Regions from separate parts of the Homo sapiens genome. Here all the other regions are linked to region 1. Evidence: promoter capture Hi-C in 16 types of primary human blood cells and fetal thymus (Javierre and others, 2016). All regions are on one chromosome and are shown on one strand. Each heading gives the region's core, a stretch centred on a gene start or on the middle of the fragment in contact. The rest is flanking DNA. Distances are from core to core; before and after follow the strand shown.

Region 1 (2,700 bases), core at 46-2,545:
CAGACAATTTGAAAATTGGTCTGTTATGGTCTCTGCTCTGAAAAGCTTCATTCTCATCCCACCTCCTGCCCCGGCTTCCAGCAGCCTCCCTTAAAATTCTGGGGATGCAGACATCTGTGCTGAGGCTGAGAAGCCAGGAGCCTGGAGACCAGCGTCCCTGGGCAGGTGCAGTGGAACCAGCTGGCCATGTGCCAAAATTCCTGTGACCCTTCCCTGGTACTGTGCTGTCTTTGCTGAGAGCTGGCCGCCTGCTCAGGGGTCCCTAAGTCTTACACTGGACAACTGGATGAGTGAGAAATAATTATTTAATTGTTAAGCCACAGAAATTCCAGGGCTCATGTGTTACAGCCAGTCATTTCTCATGAACTAATACAGTAGATGGCTTGGATCAACCCCCTCTGATGGGATGCTGCTTCTCTTCTCGGTTGGTGGAAAAAGAATTTCCATCAGTCTCTCTCTCCTTGTCTCTCTCTCTCTCTCTTTATTCCTTTTCCTTTCTGTCTCCATCTCCCTCTCCCTGACTCTTCTGGCCCCTCCCTACCATTGTCAGATAAAATATCAGGTTGCACACGGTAACGCACGTCTGTAATCCTAGCACTTTGGGAGACTAAGGCAGGAGGATTTCTTGAGTTCAAGAGTTCAAGACCACCCTGGACAACATAGTGATACCTCGTCTCTACAAAACAAACAAACAAACATATTAGCTGAGCATGGTGGCACACGCCTGTGATTTTAGCTGGTCTGGAGGCTGAGGTGGGAGGATTGCTTGCCCCCAGGATGTCAAGGCTGCAGTGAGCTGTGATGGCACCACTTCTTTCTAGCCTGGGTGACAGAACAAGACCCCCATTTCAAAAAAAAAAAGACACAACATCATCAAAAATTGTACTTAAATATAAAAGTTTGAATACTGAAAAGTCTCCCACAGCAAGCAGGCTTTAAAACTCCAAAATCTATCTGTACACAGCACTTTTTTTTTTTTCACTCTTCTCAGATCTAAGAACGATGACAGGTGGCCATGGTGCCTCGTGTCCCCTTGCAGGGGTGCAGGGGTACACACACCTTTTTTTTTTTTTTTTTTAATTTGAGATGGAATCTCGCTCTGTCGCCCAGGCTGGAGTGTAGTGGTGAGATCTCGGCTCACTGCAAACTCCGCCTTCCGGGTTCACGCCATTCTCCTGCTTCAGCCTCCCGAGTAGCTGGGACTACAGGCGCCCGACCATCACGCCAGGCTAATTTTTTGTACTTTTAATAGAGACGGGGGTTTCACCATGTTGGCCAGGCTGGTCTCGAACTCCTGACCTCGTGATCCTCCCGCCTCGGCCTCCCAAAGTGCTGGGATGACAGGCGTGAGCCACCGTACCCAGCCTCGGTGAAAACCTCAGAGGCAGGCAGCATATTCCCTGCCGAGCCGGTAGGTGGCGCAGTCAGATAAGCATTAACTAAATCACAGCTCCCTCTCCCCATCAGAATCTTTATCTAGAGGGTAACCCCAAACCTGAGAATTTGGTCAGGTCCGCACACACACAGGCATCATCATTCTTCAGCGCCATCATGAAGGGCTCTTCTCCCCCTGTTAAAGGAAACTATCACATAGTCTTCCGAAACAGCCAGTCAAAAACTTTGTGATGCAGGAAAGAACAAAAAAAAATTAAAGGACGATTACAGAATAAATATTTACATTTCTGCCTGTAACACGGACTCTGAAGCATTGGAATAATGAGGACTTGCACACCGCAAATGGGCATCAAAATCGGGCTTTATACTTGAAAAATGAAGTTTTGTGTCAAAGAAAAGGGACATTTCAAACACCACATTTATGTTTGACCCACATATACATGTGATTTTAGCTGGTCTGATATTATATTATATTATATATATATATATTTGTTTGTTTGTTTGTTTTGAGACAGAGACTCACTCTGTCGCCCAGGCTGGAGTGTTGTGGAGCAATCTCGGCTCACTGCAGTCTCCGCCTCCTGGGTTCAAGTGATTCTCCCGCCTCAGCCTCCCGAGTAGTTAGGACTACAGGCGCCTGCTTCCGTGCCCTGCTAATTTTTGCATTTTTAGTAGAGACGGGGTTTCACCATGTTGGCCAGGCCGGTCATGAACTCCTTGACTTCAGGTGATCCACCTGCCTCGGCCTCCCAAAGTGCTGGGATTACAGGCGTGAGCCACTGCACCTGGCCAGTACCTTTATACCCTTCTGGAAAGAGAACATGTTCCTTCCCCTGTTGACACTGAATTATGTCAACAGTTCTCCCCCAAGTAATGCATGGGTTTAAATCACACAGGTGATTTCAACTTGCTGCCCCCACTATTTCATTTGACAAAGGACACAGTCCTGCCTACCTGAGAGGCAGTGGCTCTACGTAAAAAGTTTTAACACACAGGAAACACCATTAAAGGGTTAGTGACTAACCCATATTTCCTGTTTTTTTGGTTTGTTTGTTTGTTTTCCCCACACATCCCCACTGGCCTGAATGAGACCTCAAGGTGTCTCATTCTTACTTTATCTTACAATCACTCTGATGGTCAAGAAGCTTGAGCACATGGGAATTCTTAAATCAAGGCACATGATTGTTACAAAGAATAGACGCTGAGGTGGGCGGATCACCTGAGGTCAGGAGTTCAAGACCAGCCTGGCCAGTATGGTGAAACCCCGTCTCTACTAAAAATACAAAAATTAGATGGGTGTGGTGG
Region 2 (2,700 bases), core at 192-2,691, 1.1 Mb after region 1:
CGTCCACCACCACGCCTAGCTAATTTTTGTATTTTTAAGGGACAGGTTTCGCTATGTTGGCCAGGCTGGTCTCGAACTCCTGACCTCAAGTGATCCGGCCCACCTTGGCACCTCAAAGTGCTGGGAATACAGGTGTGAGCCACCAGGCCTCGACTTTTTTTTTTTTTTTGAGACAGTCTCACTCTGTTACCCAGGCTGGAGTGCAATGGCCTGATCTTGGCTCACTGCAACCTCCAGCTCCCGGGTTCAAGTGATTCTCCTGCCTCAGCCTCCCCAGTAGCTAGGATTACAGGCATCCACCACCATGCCCAGCTAATTTTTGTATTTTTAGTAGGGACGGGATTTCGCTATGTTGGCCAGGCTGGTCTCGAACTCCTGACCTCAAGTGATCCACCCGCCTTGGCCTCCCAAAGTGCTGGGATTATAGGCGTGAGCCAGCAGGCCTGGTCTTTTTGTTTGTTTGTTTGTTTTTTGGGACAGTCTCACTGTCACCCAGACTGGAGTGCAATGGCCTGATCTTGGCTCACTGCAACCTCCACCTCCCAGGTTCAAGTGATTCTCCTGCCTCAGCCTCCCCAGTAGCTGGGACTACAGGTGTCCACCACCACACCCAGCTAATTTTTGTGTTTTTAGTAGGGACGGGATTTCGCCATGTTGGCCAGGCTGGTCTCAAACTCCTGACCTGAAGTGATCCACCCGCCTTGGCCTCCCAAAGTGCTGGGACTACAGGCGTGAGCCACCACACCCAGCCTGGCTTGAGGGATTGATTCTACCATGTCTTTTCCCTGAGCAGTGGTTCAATATTCATTCATTCTTTCTCAGTGACAGATCCTTCCCTCTCAACCTCCTCCCACGAGTGACAAGAACCAACCGTTGCTCCTCACAAGCAAGGATACCAGAGCTCGGAAACCTGGTTCTCATTCCTGAAACTGGCCGATCCCCCATGGGATGTTGAGGATATGAGCCTGCAGCGCCCGTGACCAACTGTGAGAGCCGGAATGATCAGTGCCCAAGGTCTGTTCGCTTGTCACAGTCTGGCTGTGTACCAAGAGATGTCGCAATGAGCACAGCTTTAGAGTCTAAAAGGAAACGTGTTCTGTTCTTTCTTTGTTTTGTTTTGTTATTTCAGAAGAAACAGGAATCGGTTCTGGAGCATGCCACGGCTCTTCACTGCTGGTTACAAAATTTAGAAAAATCATTCTCCCTCTTTTCCTCACTCTCAGGGTTCTCTTAAGAGTAGGGCCCCCTGCGAGCCAGTGATAGGGAGGTGGGCGGTTAACGGTGCTGCCCAGAGACACAGCGACGTTACTCCAGTGGGCTCAGCCCTGCACATGAGTGTTCAGACAGTTACAGAGGAAATGTCACAACACACTTCCTTTCCACCTAAGCCTGAGTCGCAACCGTGGTGGTGCGCTGGGAGGTGGAGTTTGCAGAATTTGCATTCGGAGACAGTCGTGCCAGCCGGTGGGCCACCCAGCGAAGCGGCCGCCTTTGCAAGGTTGCTGGACAGATGGAACTGGAAGGGCAGCCGTCTGCCGCCCACGAACACCTTCTCAAGCACTTTGAGTGACCACGGCTTGCAAGCTGGTGGCTGGCCCCCCGAGTCCCGGGCTCTGAGGCACGGCCGTCGACTTAAGCGTTGCATCCTGTTACCTGGAGACCCTCTGAGCTCTCACCTGCTACTTCTGCCGCTGCTTCTGCACAGGTGAGCCGCCGAGCTGGACTTTTATGCTTGTCCTGCACTGTCAAGGGAGAAGACAGGGTCGCTGGGAGGGTCCGTGTACGGTGAGAACATGGGGGAAGACGGTGCAAACTCCATGAGGCGTGTTCTCCTCACGCTAGAGCAGACCAGGAGTGCAAATTTCCTGGGAGGAAGACTTTGCACAGCCGCTTCGTCACTTAGGGGAGAAATGCTCAAATTTTCCAGGGCTGCAAGCCACCCTTCCTTTAATAACTCATTCCATGAACTTTCAGAGGCCGAGGTGGGCGGATCACGAGGTCAGGAGTTCGAGACCATCCTGGCTAACACGGTGAAACCCCGTCTCTACTAAAAATACAAAAATTAGCCAGGCGTGGTGGCAGGTGCCTGTAATCCCAGCACTTTGGGGGACCGAGGTGGGTGGATCATCTGAGGTCAGGAGTTCGAGACCATCCTGGCTAACACGGTGAAACCCCGTCTCTACTAAAAATACAAAAATTAGCTGGGCTTGGTGGTGGGCGCCTGCGGTCCCAGCTACTCGGGAGGCTGAGGCAGGAGAATGGCATGATCCCTGGAGGTGGAGCTTGCAGTGAGCAGAGATCACGCCACTGCACTCCAGCCTGGGCGACAGAGCGAGACTCTGTTTAGAAAAAAAAAAACAAAAAAAAACTCATTCCATGAAATGCGCCTCTCTTGAGGTTAACCTTAGAGAGGGTAAGCAGCTGCGGCTGCTGCACGTAACCCATTTACGCCTGAGATTGCAGTTTTTTCAATGTTTGCAATGAGACCTTGGCGATGACCTTGAGCCGTGGGATATAAATAACTCCCAAATGCTTAGCGTTCCAATAATGGAAGAGTAAGCATAAATTAAACGGGTTTTAAAGCCCTATGGGTGCCTGGATGAGCACGGTGGCCCCTCGTCACCCCCTCGGTGCCAGGGAGACCCCAGACCCGGGTCTCACGGCCACCTCAGACCTCATTTGTACAGGTCCGCTTAGAAA
Region 3 (2,700 bases), core at 94-2,593, 1.4 Mb after region 1:
CACGCCTATAATCCCAGCACTTTGAGAGGCTGAAGCGGGCCGATCACTTGAAGTCAGGAGTTTGAGACCAGCCTGGCCAACATGGTGAAACCCCATCTCTACTAAAAATATAAAAATTAGCCAGGCGTGGTGGTGGGCGCCTGTAATCCCAGCTACTCAGGAGGCTGAGGCAGGAGAATCGCTTGAACCCGGGAGGAGGAGGTTGCAGTGAGCCAAGATCGTGCCACTGCACTCCAGCCTGGGTGACAGAGAGTGAGACTCCAGCTCAAAAAAAAAGAAAGGAAAAGCAAGAGAAAGGAAGGGGAGGTGGGGAGGGGGAGGGGAGGAGAGGGGAGGGGGAGGGGAGGAGACGGAAGGGGGAGGGAGAGGGGAGGGAGGAGGGGGTGGGGGGAGGGGGGAGGGGAAGGGAGGGGAGGGGATGTACACATCTACGTATCCATCTATGCATGCATCCATCCACCCATCCACCTATGTATCTGTTCATCCATTTATCCATCCATCCACCCACCTATCCACACATCCTTTCATCCACTTATCCATCCATCCATATACCATCCATGGAGGGGAGGGGAGGGGATAGGTGGAGGGGGTGGGGGAAGGGAGGGGGACAAAAGATGAGGGGATGGGAGGGGGATGGGAAGGGAGGGGGTGGGGTGGGGGGGAAGGGGAAGGGAGGGGAAGGGAAAGGAAGGGAAGGGAGGGGAGGGAAGGGGGAGGGGAGGGAAGGGGGAGGGGAGGGGGAGGGGAGGTGGGGAGGAGGAGGGGAGGGGAGGAAAGGGAAGGGGGAGGGGGAGGGGAGGGAGGAGGGGGTGGGGGAGAGGCAGAAGGGAAGGGAGGGGAGGGGAGGGGATGGAGGGGAGGGGAGAGGGGAGGGGGAGGGGAAGTGAAAGGAAGGGAAGGGAGGGGAGGGGAGGGGGAAGGGGAGGGGAGAGGGGGAAGGGGAGGGGAGAGGGGAGGGGAGGGGAAGGGAAAGGAAGGAAAGAGAGGGGAGGGGAAGGGGGAGGGGAGGGGAGTGGGGAGGGAATGGAGGGGAGGGGAGGGGAGGGGGAGGGAGGGAAGGGAATGGAGGGGAGGGGGAGGAGATGGGGGAGGGGGAGGGAAGGGGAGGGCTCAGCTCAGCAGTGTGCGTGGCAGTCCTGATCCTGGATTGATTGTGTGTGTGTGTGTGTGTGTGTGTGTGTGTGTTCTTGACAAGTGTATCTTTGAAAATCAACTGTCACTGTGCTTCCTGCCTGTAATCATTTCCCTAGTTTCCTTTCTGACTTTTTAAAATCGATGGTGACCTCTGCTTATGAGTCATGAGTGATCTGTTCGTTGTAGGTCCCTGAGGACCTCACTCTCCACTCCTGTTTCAGGCATGGGGCGGCTGGTTCTGCTGTGGGGAGCTGCCGTCTTTCTGCTGGGAGGCTGGATGGCTTTGGGGCAAGGAGGAGCAGGTAATTATTTAAACACCCTCTTCTTGTTGTATTTTGGTTTGTGGTTTGCTTTGCAACCAGGCACTCTTTATTTTGTAAAACTTAAACAATGAGCATGGAGGTTTCTTTCTTCTTTTCTTTTTTTTTTTTTTTTTTTTCCGGGTTCAAGCAATTCTCCTGCCTCAGCTTCTCAAGTAGCTGGGACAAAACATATTTATAAGTAAATACATGAATATTAAGTATACTTATTGCTCCCGGAATATCCACTGCTTATATGAGCTTTCGGTGGCCAGAACTAGGAACTGTATGTGTGCGTGTGTGTGTCTATCTATTGATTGATTGATTGGTAGATATATTCATTTTTAATCTATCCATCAATGTATCTCATCTATCTTTTCCCATTAATCACCCATCCATCCACTATCCATCCATCTATTATTCATTGATCCATCCACTAATATATCCATCCACCCATCTATCAAACGATTCATCCACTCATACATTCACCCACCCATCAACCCACCCAGCCATCCGTCCACCCAACCTTTCATTCACTCATCCATCCATCCACCATCCACCCAGCTGTTATCTATCCATCCTCCCATCCACCCATCTATCATCCATCCATCCATCCATCCACCCATCCACCCATCCATCCACCAATACATCCATCCATCCATCCACCCATCCACCCATCCATCTACCAATACATCCATCCATCCATGCATTCACCCACACTTTTATCCACTTATCCATCCATCCATCCATCCACCCATCCATCCACCAATACATCCATCTATCCATGCATTCACCCACACTTTTATCCACTTATCCATCCATCCATCCATCCATCCACCCATCCACCCATCCATCCACCAATACATCCATCCATCCATGCATTCACCCACACTTTTATCCACTTATCCATCCATCCATCCATCCACCCATCCATCCACCAATACATCCATCTATCCATGCATTCACCCACACTTTTATCCACTTATCCATCCATCCATCCATCCACCCATCCATCCACCAATACATCCATCTATCCATGCATTCACCCACACTTTTATCCACTTATCCATCCATCCATCCATCCATCCACCCATCCACCCATCCATCCACCAATACATCCATCTATCCATGCATTCACCCACACTTTTATCCACTTATCCATCCATCCATCCATCCATCCATCCATCCATCCATCCATCCACCCATCCACCCATCCACCCACCAATACATCCATCTATCCATGCATTCACCCACACTTTTATCCACT

The links. The method cuts DNA at HindIII sites, captures the fragments that hold promoters and counts their contacts. A CHiCAGO score of 5 or more calls a contact.
Region 2: a contact is called between the fragment with the promoter of P2RY8 here and a fragment that was not itself captured in region 1, in 1 of 17 cell types (naive CD8 T cells). The highest score is 7.2, in naive CD8 T cells.
Region 3: the fragment with the promoter of CRLF2 here is called in contact with a fragment that was not itself captured in region 1 in 4 of 17 cell types (non-activated CD4 T cells, total CD4 T cells, naive CD4 T cells and 1 more); the score reaches 7.9 in non-activated CD4 T cells.

Annotation. Positions count from the first base shown.
Region 1 is chrX:2,592,207-2,594,906 of GRCh38, reverse strand. The region is part of intron 1 of LINC03112 (long intergenic non-protein coding RNA 3112); the gene reads left to right. Among named protein-coding and RNA genes, the nearest start is that of LINC03112, 16 kb to the left of the region's middle. The HindIII fragment of the contact is 2,495 bases long and covers 48-2,542 here.
Region 2 is chrX:1,535,926-1,538,625 of GRCh38, reverse strand. P2RY8 (P2Y receptor family member 8) reads left to right here and starts at 1,441. Exons shown (of 2, transcript NM_178129.5): 1 at 1,441-1,705. The HindIII fragment of the contact is 32,946 bases long and covers 1-2,700 here.
Region 3 is chrX:1,211,292-1,213,991 of GRCh38, reverse strand. It overlaps CRLF2 (cytokine receptor like factor 2), which reads left to right and starts at 1,343. Exons shown (of 8, transcript NM_022148.4): 1 at 1,343-1,436. The coding sequence starts at 1,358. The HindIII fragment of the contact is 4,372 bases long and covers 1-2,700 here.